Linked DNA regions of Homo sapiens: region 2 is linked to region 1. The links are contacts of gene promoters, found by promoter capture Hi-C in blood cells and fetal thymus (Javierre and others, 2016). All regions are on one chromosome and are shown on one strand. The core of a region is centred on a gene start or on the middle of the fragment in contact, and the rest is flanking DNA. Distances in the headings are between cores, read along the strand shown. Region 1 holds the start of H2BC17 (H2B clustered histone 17). Region 2 holds the start of TRQ-CTG1-2 (tRNA-Gln (anticodon CTG) 1-2).

What was found. Contacts are between HindIII fragments. The CHiCAGO score rates a contact against its expected background, and 5 or more counts as called.
Region 2: a contact is called between a fragment that was not itself captured here and the fragment with the promoter of H2BC17 in region 1, in 3 of 17 cell types (naive B cells, total CD8 T cells and activated CD4 T cells). The highest score is 6.5, in naive B cells.

Annotation. Positions count from the first base shown.
Region 1 is chr6:27,891,082-27,897,478 of GRCh38, reverse strand. H2BC17 (H2B clustered histone 17) reads right to left here and starts at 4,054. Exons shown (of 1, transcript NM_003527.4): 1 at 3,588-4,054. The coding sequence starts at 4,016. The coding sequence ends at 3,636. H2AC17 (H2A clustered histone 17) reads left to right here and starts at 4,294. Exons shown (of 1, transcript NM_003514.2): 1 at 4,294-4,780. The coding sequence starts at 4,330. The coding sequence ends at 4,722. RefSeq lists a cis regulatory region at 1,671-1,955 and enhancers at 3,291-3,430, 3,821-4,060, 4,081-4,624, 4,971-5,020, 4,625-5,168 and 1 more. The HindIII fragment of the contact is 3,889 bases long and covers 334-4,222 here.
Region 2 is chr6:27,518,817-27,525,213 of GRCh38, reverse strand. TRQ-CTG1-2 (tRNA-Gln (anticodon CTG) 1-2) reads right to left here and starts at 5,685; the gene lies at 5,614-5,685. It also overlaps the pseudogene HNRNPA1P1. RefSeq lists a silencer at 5,603-5,652 and an enhancer at 6,043-6,332. The HindIII fragment of the contact is 2,165 bases long and covers 2,099-4,263 here.

The DNA.
Region 1 (6,397 bases), core at 2,805-5,304:
AAAAGTAAGAAAATGTAACATAAATAGAAAAGAACTGGCTTATTTACCCAGGTAACTACTCAATCCACAATGAACAACTCCAAATACCTTTCACCACTTTTACCTCATAGCTGTGAGAACTGAATTTTTTGTTTTTTCTTTTAGTTCACTGTATCTGTTTACTTAACTAGCAGAAAATAACTCTTCAATGCCTGATGTATGTGAGGCCTGATGCTTTATCCAGAGGGGCCAAGTGAGGAATGAATTATTTTCAGCTGAGAATTTAGAAAGTTGGGAAGGCCGGGGCATTTGATCTGGGCCCTGATGGCAGAAAGAGCAGCTTGGTGAAAAGCTTGTCATGGATACAGGAGTCTTTGTTAATGTCCAGAGATCTCAACTTCAAGGATGAAGGGCTTCATGAGATCTCTACTTTAGAGGTGAAGGACTTGATGAAGTCAACAGACATTTTTTTTTAATAGTCTGTACCATGATATATATATTTTATTAGCTCTCAGTATTGAAAATTTATAATATTTCACATTAAGCTGCATATACTCTTGAAAAATTGGAAGTCACACTGTCCTTGTGCTTGCATTGCTAGAAGGGAGAAATCAGTGAAATCAAATTGCACAGGTTTTGTCTTCAGTTCTCAAGTTACCACTGGTCCTGTTAGTTTCCATATTAGTTGGCATTTATCAATATGCTTGTGCTATGGTTGTTCTTACAGCAGAATTAAGAAAACAGTGAAATATATCTTGGTCAAGTATCTCTATCAAAACTGGAAAAATGAAATATGCCAGAAGTCTGGGTGTTTCAAGAAAAATAGCAAATAGCACCTCTCTTTATAGAGATAAGGCGTGCTTTTTAATATCCAGCTGTTTTTGCTCTAATGTGCTGGGCCTTTGTTAGCAACTGACTTTTAACTTCTGGTTTAAGGAATATCATAACTGTCACCTTATCTGCAAATTAAGCTAAATGTAGATATTTTATAAAGGAGAACTTGGAATAGAAAGTCGGGATGAAAGCATGGAAAATGGTCTTAAGTGCTGTTATGGACTTCATTGTGTTCCCCCAAAACAGACCAGGTGCAGTGGCTCGCGCCTGTAATCCCAGAACTTTGGGAGTCCAAGACCAGCCTGGACAACATGGTGAAACCCTGTCTGTACTAAAAACACAAAAATTAGCTGGGCGCTGTGGCAGGTGCCTGTCTGTAGTTCAGCTACTCAGGAGGTTGAGGAAGAAGAATCACTTGAACCCAGGAGGTGGAAGTTGCAGTGAGCCGAGATTGCGCCACTGCACTCCAGCCTGGGCGACAGAGTGAGACTCTGTCTCAAAAAACAAAACAAAAGAAAACAACTTCATGTCGAAGTCCCAGCCCTCAGTGTGGTTGGTATTTGAAGACAGGGCCTTTAAACAGATAATTAAGGTTAAATTGAGTTGTAAGTGTGGGGACTTAATCTAATAGAACTAGAAAGCACGATCGTATTATTATTTATTTTAGGGTATAAAGCATTTTGGCTTTTTTTATTTGTTTATTTCTTTTGGACAGCTCTGACCAGATCACAAAGCTCAACAGGACTTTCTCCTTTACCCACTCCTCGCTCTTCCTATTAACTCCCCCGCCCCCCTCCCGCTCCCTTTTAACCTCCGCACTAACAACTCTTGAAGAAACTTGAATCCTGCAATTAAAAGGAGTGAAAAATGGAAACCCTGCCCTAGCCCACTGACTCAGTAGAAAGTTAAGAAGAAAGCATTTTAACTGGGGCTGGAAAACACAACGCCTTGAACTTGTGCTTTTGCTTTTTTGCCACAAGATGGCAGGAGAAGGCCACACGTACTCTCTCACCCACTCGGAGGATAATCACCCCTCAGATGTTCTCTCAAGGACGCGGGATGGGCAGGGAGAAACGAATCTCGAAAAAGAGAGCGAAGAGGAATGAAAGGAGGGGGCAAATGTGATGCCAAGTTAAAGAACATGATGAAATCAGGGGACTGCTCTCCAAGTAACTTAGCTTGTCGATAAGCTCTGTCGCCAAGCCCGAGGCACCAAACTTTAATGACAAGGTACGGGGACTGGGGAAGAGAACATTTTAGGGAAGTGAACGGCAAATCCTACAATGTATTTTGAACGACCCACTAACCAATTGGCATAATTCGGGGCTGTTTGTCACCTGTGACAGAGACGAGACTATTCGTCCGAGATAGCCTTCCACCCATAGCTGCAAAGGAAGTGACGTCAGGAAAATAAAGGAAAAGTTAAGGGGTGATTTTAAAGCCTGGAGTGGAATTGTGGAGGGGCTTGCTATTTTGCTGCTAAAGATTTACAATAGAAGTAATTTATTGAAGAGGGGATAACGCAGTGGCAGAGGATGCAATGCTATGAGAATTCAGGCACTGTTGAGAAGAGGGGATCATGCCTTGAAAAGTCTCCACTCCCTTGTACTCGCACGCTCTTGGTTTACCTCCTATTTCTGTGATCTCTTCTGGGGTCCGCTTCTCTTTAAACGCGGGGTTCTCCAACTTCTATCTCAGGATTCCTAATCATGGACTTTAAAATCCCAGCCTGAACGCTGCCCCCGCCCCAGCTAATCCTGGCACACCTCCCTCCCCAAGGCCAACTGATTAACATTGCAAAAAAGCGGCTTTCCCAAGTTGCCAGGTTCTTTGTTCAACATTTTATCCTAAAGGAGCTTCCTTAGCCTTTAATGTTTCCCGTCCCGCTTTGACACCAATAATTTCAACCCACCCTAACATATCTGCAGCGATGCCAGACGAGATGCCTATTCTCTAAAGTGTATGGAAAATGGACACCGGTAAGTCAATGTCACCCAGGATCCGTACAACTGCAGTAAGAGGGACGGTTAATTCACAGCTTCCAGCTCTTGGCGCCAGAGTCCGATGCACTCCTGCAGATAACGGTCATTTCCATTCCGGGAGAACCTCTTCGAAAAACAACCCGGATGAGACTATCTGGCAAATTGCAGCCCTTGGCGGGCTTTTCAAATAGAGCGTTGACCAATCAAAGAAGGGGGACGTTACAGGCACTGAAAGAATAACCCGGCCGCGCGCGATGGCTCACGCCTGATATCCCAACATTTTGGGAGGCCGAGATGGGTGGATCACGAAGTCAGGAGTTCGAGACTAGCCTGGTCAAGACGGTAAAACTCCGTCTCTACTAAAAATGCAATAATTAGTCGGGCACGGTGGCGGGCGCCTGTAATCCCAGCTACTTAGGAGGCCGAAGCAGAATTGGTTGAACCCGGGAGACGGAGCTTACAGTGAGCCGAGATCGCGGCACTGCACTCTATCCTGGGCGACAGAGCCAAGACTCCATTTAAAAAAAAAAAAAAAAAACAACACAAAAGGAAAGAGTAACCGAAAACCGAAAGCAAACTTGTAATTATAGCTTAAAGCACAACTGCAAGCCTTTTTCCCCAAGGGTATCTAAGAACCCAAGCTAAATTTGTCTGATGGAGCGTCTATACTCACACGCAAAAAGCCTAGGGAGCTTAGCTTACCTTTTCCCGCCGTCTTCCCTCCTAATGGAGGCCGGCCGGAGTCCACCCAAAAGACTACAAGCAAAATGCACAGGCTCTTTCTCTGGAAGCGTGAGTGGCTCTGAAAAGAGCCTTTGGATTGCTGGCAGCTGCGAGAGCTCACTTGGAGCTGGTGTACTTGGTGACGGCCTTTGTGCCCTCGGACACGGCGTGCTTGGCCAGCTCCCCGGGCAGCAGCAGGCGCACGGCCGTCTGGATCTCCCTGGAGGTGATGGTCGAGCGCTTGTTGTAATGCGCCAGGCGGGAAGCCTCGCCAGCGATGCGCTCAAAGATGTCATTGACGAAGGAGTTCATGATGCCCATGGCCTTCGATGAGATGCCGGTGTCGGGGTGGACTTGCTTCAGCACCTTGTACACGTAGATAGAGTAACTCTCTTTGCGGCTGCGCTTGCGCTTCTTGCCGTCCTTTTTCTGGGCCTTGGTTACGGCTTTCTTGGAGCCCTTTTTGGGGGCAGGAGCAGATTTAGCCGGGTCGGGCATGGCGGAGGAGAGTGAAAGAGCACTCAAATAACAAGAATGAGGACAAGCTGGGTTATGCCCTATTTATTTACAAGTCTATATGCAGATGAGATTGAGAAATTCTTCTGTCTGATTGGAAGTTACTCAGATGACGTTAATATCAATATAGTCCAATCAAAACACGTATATTCAGAAAGCTCATTTGCATTAAGAGGAAGCTGCAAGCTTAGCCAATGGCCCAGCTTCTTTTTCGCGCCCAGCAGCTGCTATAAAATGCGCGTCCCTGTAGGTTCCTTTCACTCACTTTCTGACTTAGGCCACAGGTCGTTTTACCATGTCTGGACGTGGCAAGCAGGGCGGCAAGGCTCGCGCCAAGGCCAAAACCCGCTCCTCTAGAGCTGGGCTCCAATTTCCTGTAGGACGAGTGCACCGCCTGCTCCGCAAGGGCAACTACGCTGAGCGGGTCGGGGCCGGCGCGCCGGTTTACCTGGCGGCGGTGCTGGAGTACCTAACTGCCGAGATCCTGGAGCTGGCGGGCAACGCAGCCCGCGACAACAAAAAGACCCGCATCATCCCGCGCCACTTGCAGCTGGCCATCCGCAACGACGAGGAGCTCAACAAGCTGCTTGGTAAAGTTACCATCGCTCAGGGCGGTGTTCTGCCTAACATCCAGGCCGTACTGCTCCCCAAGAAGACTGAGAGCCACCACAAAGCTAAGGGCAAGTAAGGGCTGAACTTTAAAAATGTAAACTTACAAGACAAAAGGCTCTTTTCAGAGCCACCCACCATTTCTACGGAAGAACTGAGCACTCTGTTCTCCAAACCTATCAGAAATTTGTGGCCGAGTTCAAGCACTGAGGCCATTACTTTCCTATTGGGTAAAATAAAAGTATTGAATCAGGCCTAGTAAATACTATCCAACTGCTACCTTATAACATGAAGGAACCTCCTTAATTGTCCCCTCCCCACAAACTGTCCTGGGTCTTTAAAAAACTTGGGGCCGGGCGCGGTGGTTTATGCGTCCTTAGCATTTTGGGAAACTGAGGCAGGTGGGTGGGGAGGGGAGAAATCTCTAGGGACCTGGAGTTCGAGACCACCCTGATAACGAGACCCCTGCCTCTTAAAAAAAAAATGACTGGGCGCGGTGGCTCACGCCTGTAATCCCAGCACTTTGGGAGGCCGAGGAGGGTGTATCACAAGGTCAAGAGATCGAGACCACCCAGGCAAACATGGTGAAACCCTGTCCCTACTAAAAACACAAAAATTAGCCGGGCGTGGTGGCGAGCGCTACTAAGGAGACAGGCAGGAGAATCGCTTGAACCCAGGAGGCAGAGGTTGCAGTGAGCCGAGATCACGCCACTGCACTCCAGCCTGGGCGACAGAGCGAGACTCCATCTAAAAAAAAGAAAGAAAAAAAATACCAGGCGCGAGGCCCTCGCCTGTATTTGGCGGACTGACAGCAGAAGGAACACTTGAGTCCCAGGAATTTGAGATTTCAGTGAGCCATGACCTCGCCACTGCACTCCAGCCTGGGTGACAAAGCGAGACCCCGTCTCAAAAAAAGAAAAACAAAACCCAAACAAAAGTATTTCTGGTGATCATTTGCTCCTGTGAATATAATAAATGTTAAACTAACCTTTTTGTTGTCTTTATGGGTCTTTATCAATACCAGAACCTGGTAGTTCTTTGATCAACTAAAATCTCCATCCTAATAAAATGCTGTTGTCAGAACTACCCAGATTCACTGGCAAAAATCTAATCACTGACCCAAACCTGTAATTCCGCGCATGCTAATGAAATTAAGCAATAATTTACATAATTAATCCAATCAGCCATTGGATTGCATTAAACTCAGTTAATGAAGAGGTCAGATACCATTTATTGGTATCATTTAGTCAAGCACCTATCAAACTCCTTCCCCACACCACACTGGACAAAACTAAAGTTTTGGTGTTTTAGAGAATGTGCCAGCCTAAGTTTAAATTGTTTTTGTTCTGGGTCTTGGTACAGTCATTAAAAGATTTAATTAAGCAGTTACAAAACGGAACTACTTTTTGGAAATACTAGCAAATACGTTGTTCTACTGTATGTATTTTTACACGATCCGAAATAGGAAAAATGACCCATTGGAAATGAGTTTAAGACTACGACTGACCTACACAAATTCTAGGTCAGATTATCTTTTCATTGGGGGAATCTTAACATGATTGGTTGAAAACAATAAATAAAAGTGGCGCGGAGGACGAGCGCAGTGGCTCACGCCTGTAATCTAAGCACTTTGGAAGTCCGAGGCAGGCGGATAACTTGAGATCAGGAGTTTGAGACCAGCCTGGCCAACATGGTGAAACCCCTTCTCTGCTAAAAAAAAATTAGCCGGGCGTCGTGGCAAGTGCCTGTAGTCC
Region 2 (6,397 bases), core at 1,932-4,431, 370 kb after region 1:
ACACACACACACACACTTCTCGAAGAAAGCAGAACAGGGAGCTGAGACTTTCATTGCCCCAGGCTGTAAAGAACCCCCTACCCCCATCCCAGAATGAAAGTCAAATAGCCAGATATCTACTTCCATGTTATTTCTGGAATCCTTGAGCCTAATTTTTTTTTTTTTTTTGAGTTGGAGTCTCACTCTGTCGCCCAGGCTGGAGCGCAATGACAAGATCTCTCCTCACTGTAACCTCTGCCTTCTGGGTTCAAGCAATTCTCCTGCCTCAGCCTTCTAAAGTGCTGGAATTACAAATGTGAGCCGCCGCGCCTGGCCCGGTGAACTCTTTTAATGGTGAACTTCAAGTCACAACAGTAACTATCAGTTCAACTACACCAAGGTTACTGAAGATAATGGCTTCTCCACCCAAGCAGGTCATATACAAATTCCAAATAGAATGTGGCATCACCCTGAAGGAATTCCCTTCACAATGTTGGGGAAATTTACCAAGATGGCTTCAGAGTAGACTAACTTTACATAGCACATTTTTCAAAGAGACACATTTATTCAGAGTCATGATTAGACTATTACATTTGGCATCCAACAGCCTAGGTGCAAAAAAAAAAAAACACACTATATTAAAACCCTTTGTTGAAATGATTTATACTTTCCTCAGAACAGAAACTAAAATAACCTATTATACAATTAGTCATAAATACAGTCCTCAAGTTTTTTGCCCATATACATGAGTATTTGTCTAATACATGTCTTCTTTGTAGCAGTTAGGCCCTTCCACCACTGGGCTTGGCTGAGTTCACAAATCGGTTGTAATCTGCAGCTTCCCTGTCACTTCTTTGACTCTCCTTTCCTGGTAAGCTTTGTTTCCTGGCAGTAATTAAAATCTTCTACCACTGCCGTAACTACTGCTGCTACGGAACTGCCATAGCCACCTTGGTTTCATGGTTTGGCAAAGTATTGGCTTCCACCACCATAGGGACCAGAGCTTCTGCCTCCAAAGTTTCCTCCCTTTATGGGTCCAAAATTTGAAGACCGATCGTTGTAATTGCCAAAATCATTGTAGCTTCCACCACCTCCAAAATTGCTTCCATCATTATCAAATCTGTTATAGCCATTCCCACTGCCACCCTATCTACCACCACCACTTCTGCCACCAAAGCCAGCACAACCACTGAAGTTTCCTCCACGACCGAAGTTGTCATTCTCACCAAAACCACCTCCAACGCCACCACCAAAGTTTCCAGAACCACTTCGATCTCTTTGGCTGGATGAAGCACTAAACATCTTTTGCTTTGACAGAGCACTCCTAAAGTCACAGTTGTGGCCATTCACAGTGTGGTATTTCTGAATGACAATCCTTTCCATGGAGTCATGGTCATCAAAAGTTACAAGGCAAAGCCCCTGTTCTTGCCACTGCCTCGGTCAGTCATGATCTCAATCACTTCAATTTTTCCATACTGTTCAATATAATCTCTTAGTTTATGTTCTTCAGTTCTTCTTTAACATCTTTATCACAGTTAAGTGGGCACCTGGTCTTTGAGAATCTTCTCTTGAAACAGCTGTCTTTGGTTCCACAAATCTTCCATCCACCTTGTGCGGCCTTGCATTCATGGCTGTATCCACCTTTTCCATACCGGCATATGTGACAAACCCAAAGCCCCTGGAGTGCTTGGTGTTTGGATCTTTCTTTACTACACAGTCCGTGAGCGTTCCCTATTGCTCAAAATGGCTCCTCAGGCTCTCATCAGTTGTTTCAAAGCTCAACCCTCCTGGCCAGGTGCAGTGGCTCATGCCTGTAATCCTAGCACTCTGGGAGGCCAACCTGGACAACATAGTGAAACCACGTCTGTACTACACACACACAGACACACACACACACACACACACACTTAGCCAGGCGTGGTGGTGCCCGCCTGTAGTCCCAGCTACTTGGGAGGCTGAGGCAGGAGAATCACTTGAACTCAGGAGGCGGAGGTTGCAGCGATCCCAGATTGCGCCACTGCACTCCTCCAGCTTGGCGACAGAAAGAGACTCGTCTCAAAAAAAACAAAAACAAAACCGAAAAAAACAAAATTCAACCCTCCAATGACAATGAAAAGCTTCAGCAGCTGTTCGGGCTCTTTAGGAGACGCTGACTTAGATATGATGGCAGTGGGAAGAAGGGCGTTTAACAGTGCTTCCTCAGCAGTGTCCACAGGCGGAAAAGGCCAGGTTTACTTTTAGTATCTGAATAGTATAGTTGTCTTATTTTATTTATTTATTTTTTAGTACTGTTATTGTTTAGTACAAGAATAAGAATTTTAGCTATTAAGCATAGAGTGAAAATCTTGTGAGCTTTGTTAAGATACTGTCAATCATTGAAATATGAATGGATTTTTACTATTTTAGGGATAAAATGCTTCAATAATTAATAATTTGTGAAAAACTTTATATTTTATGTAATATTAAGAATTAATAAAATTGAAATTAATATAAGGAAGTTAATATAAATATAAGAGTTCTTTAGATTGCTGTATAGGAAGAACATCACATACTTTTATTCTCAACAAATATTATAAATATTTACATTAGAATAAAATGAAGAATAATAAAGTTGTAATTATATCTTAATTCTTCATTTCTAGAATATTTAAAAATACCTTCAAAAACTATTTTCTATATTAGCCTTGAGTCTTTAAACAAAAGTTCTATTTGACAATTTTTTTCATTTTGTCAAAATAACTTAAAAGCAAAATGTCTATTTTGTCACATTAAACTTTCACAAGGGGGAAACGTTCCAAAATTTTGTATTATATCATGACAAATCTTTGTTTATGCAAGTATAACAAAGTCTTTGAAGAAAAGAGGAGATGTTTAGAAGCAATGAAGTCCATCTAAGTTAAAAGTGGGCATCTATTTTTTGGCCCAGCTGTGCTGTAGGGTGACTGAAGAAAAATCTAGTAAATGATATCAATACACAATAATATCAACCTTTGAAATTTTGACTAGTAAAGTTTTGATTATAATACAGTTCTTATAGTAATATATTAATATAAAATATAATACATTAAATATAATGCTAATAATAATTAGTTTTTCAATAAAATTCTTAAATTTTTACATCCTGGCATTTTATTCACAGCAAAGAGGCACTACTGCGTAGCTTTGGCCATGCCCTCAGACAAGTACTAATTTCATAGTCATTCGTTCAGCATTTGCATGAATTATAACTTCAGTAAACAGTTCTAAAAATTATCTTTTATTATGATAAATGACTCCAGTATAATTTGATCCTTATTACAACATCCCATTTTGTGTATTATTGTTATTCATCATTTTAGTTCCATTTTGTTTCTACATCTCAAAATTTAGTAATTATTAACTAATATTTTAACAGATTATTTAACAAATATTAGTTTTGTAGAGACAGGGACTCACCATCTTGCTCAGGCTGGTCACCAACTCCTGGCCTTAAGTGATCCACCCACCTCACCCTCTGAAACTGTGGAAACTACAGGCATGAACCACTGTGCCCGGCCTATTTTAACAGATTCTGTGGCTGAATCATAATGAAAGAGAAAATTGATGGAAAAAGAAAAGTTTAGGAAGAAAAGAAATTATAGATAATCATATTGATGAACATAGTGGTCTAATATGCCTAAGACTTCATATGACTAGGGAGAATTCTCTACCAATGAACTGTGCATCCTCAATGGTTCTGTGATAACTAAATTCCTGCTATGGACTGAATGGACTCAAATGCATATGTGGAAGCCTCTCTCTCTCTGTTTCTCTCTCTCTCTCTCTGTCCCCCCAGTATGTGAGGATAGAGCAAGAGGACAGTAGGCTGCAAATCAAGAAGGGAGGGCTCACCAGACATTGAATCAGCTGGAACCTTGATTTTGGGTTTCCCAGCCTTCAGAATTGTGAGAAATAAATGTTTGTTGTTTAAGTCAACAAACATTATATAGTTATAGTAGTCCAAACTGTCTAAAACAATTTCTTAGGCTTCTATGTAGCTAGGATGGCACGCATGTGCCCTAAGTTTTCCAATCAGATGTATTTCTTCTTTCAGAAGAAACATGTATATAAACAAGGGAGAAAAACTCCAAAATTATGTATTTTATCATGATGCATCTTTATGCAAGTATAATAAAGTCTATGAAGAAATGTTTAGAAGCAAATTAGGTCCATCTAAATTAAAGGTAAGCATCTATTTTCTTGCAACATTTGCCTTGGTAAGGGTAATGAATAGATATCTGCTAAATGCAGGTAGATATTTAAGCTTTTAGAGGCAGTGGTGGCATAAGGCCTAGCAAAGGCATTCCATGCTGGGGAACATAATGCTGCTAGCAGTTAACACTAGAAAATGCATGAGGAATCAGAAGGAATGGGTAGTACAATATAAAAGGGCAAATAATCATTATGTGTGGAAGCATTTGGAAAATGAAAATGACAATTCAAAGTTATAAATTCTCCATTAAATGTATGGTTGCAGAATCAGGAATTTCCTCTGCAGTAAAATAATTTTTAATTTTTGTGACCCAAGAATTGCCATAATTCAAAATCAAATTTATATTATAAACATCTCTTGGTTTCCCATTAATGGAAAGATGAATGAATGAGCTGTGGCATGTTCATATTACACAGCAGCTAACATGAAATCAATGAATGAATGGTAGCTACATACAACAAAAGAGATGATTAATTTTAGCAATATAAGATTAAATGAAAAAAGATTATAACATATAGCCTGATACCCTGTATCCACAATTAAAAGACACAATTTTATAAATACTAATAGATAAAATCAAACTAAGGAAAGCACTTTGGCCTTAATTCTTCAGAGACCCAGTAACTTCTTTGTCTTTCCTTAAGTTGTGACAAATCCAAACATTTACCAGAAAATAAACTAACTTGCAACAAGAGACATTTAGTTTTATGAAGACAAAATAATCACAGAGGCATCCTAGGATACAATTTTAAAGCTCTATCATTCTATGGGACGTATTCAGCATTGACAGCAATTCTGTGTGGCGGGTTAATGTCACAGAAATGACCAACAGAGCACTTAGAAGGTGTATCTGGATATTTACTTACCGTGTTGACAGTGATTGAAGTTACCATGTGAGGATCCAATAGTGTTCAAATACCTAAGAGAGTTTAAGCAATTTTTATTTAAAGTACAGATTTATTTTCACTAATCCTTGTTTCTCAGTGGCAAATGAAACACCTATAAATTCTAGTGATTGCACCTAAAAGGCATTATAAAGCCTCATTCTCTTGGGAAAAAGATACATACAAGAATATTTCTTTTCCCTCAAATCTGTTGAGTCCTTTTTGTCCTCTGAAGTGAATTAACTGCATTTCATAAAGCAATAAATCAAGTAAAAAGTTTAACTCAACTCGAATTATTTTGGGTATTAGAATATCTGTTAGGTGGTGGTGAGGAGGGTAGTAAAATGAAGGAGGTATGAGGGTCTCCTGCTCTGAACATAGAGCAGAGAGTCAGTGGGCCCCGTACAGAGTCCGCGTCATACTTTGGGTTCACATGAACTGGAGATTCCTGCCAATCATATCTAAGAGGGAAATTTATTTTAGAAAGAAAAAAATAGTGAGGAAGCAAGAAGAAACGACAGGTTCCACCGAGATTTGAACTCGGATCGCTGGATTCAGAGTCCAGAGTGCTAACCATTACACCATGGAACCTCGCAATAGCTCGTGTTTTTAACAGGCCTTCCTGAAGGAATATATCTTCATTTCCGAACTCAAGCTGTCTTCCCTTTAAGAACCTAAGTTTCTACCCTAATGTTCGTTATCTGCCGCCATCACACAAGTTCCCTTTTCGTTTCTCACAGGGCTCTTCGTGCAAGATCCAAGAGCAAATCTGTTTCCAGGGGCAGATAAGGTAAGTCCGTGCCTCCCCTGGACTCTTAGCAACAGCCTGCGGGGCTCCCCAGCCTCGGTTCTGCGGCCCTAAGCCGGGCTGCCCCGATACAGGGGGAGAGGGCACCAACCTAGCCGCGCTGACAGATTGCGTTGTTGGAAGAACCGCGAGGCTCGCCGCCTCCCGAGCGTTTGTCCGGCGTTCTTTGCTCCTAACGCTAGGAACACTTTTGAAAGTTCCATTTCGTAACGTATAAATTATGGATGACTTAAATTGAGGCGGCGTGTCAACTAGTCCTGGCACCCGTGGCGTTGCCGAGGGTAAAAAACAAAAAACAGGACACCAAAAGATGCTTTCTGCTTCCCGGGAAGGCTCCACCTCGTGGATACCAAAGAGTAAAGCACTGTTAAAAGCTCGAATATTTGCAAGGCAGGATTTTGTAATTAGTTTCTCACTGATAAAGCTTTAACTTGGTCTTTCTCAATGGGATTAACTGAGAACCTCTCCCAAAATATTCAGCAGTAAAAATTTACT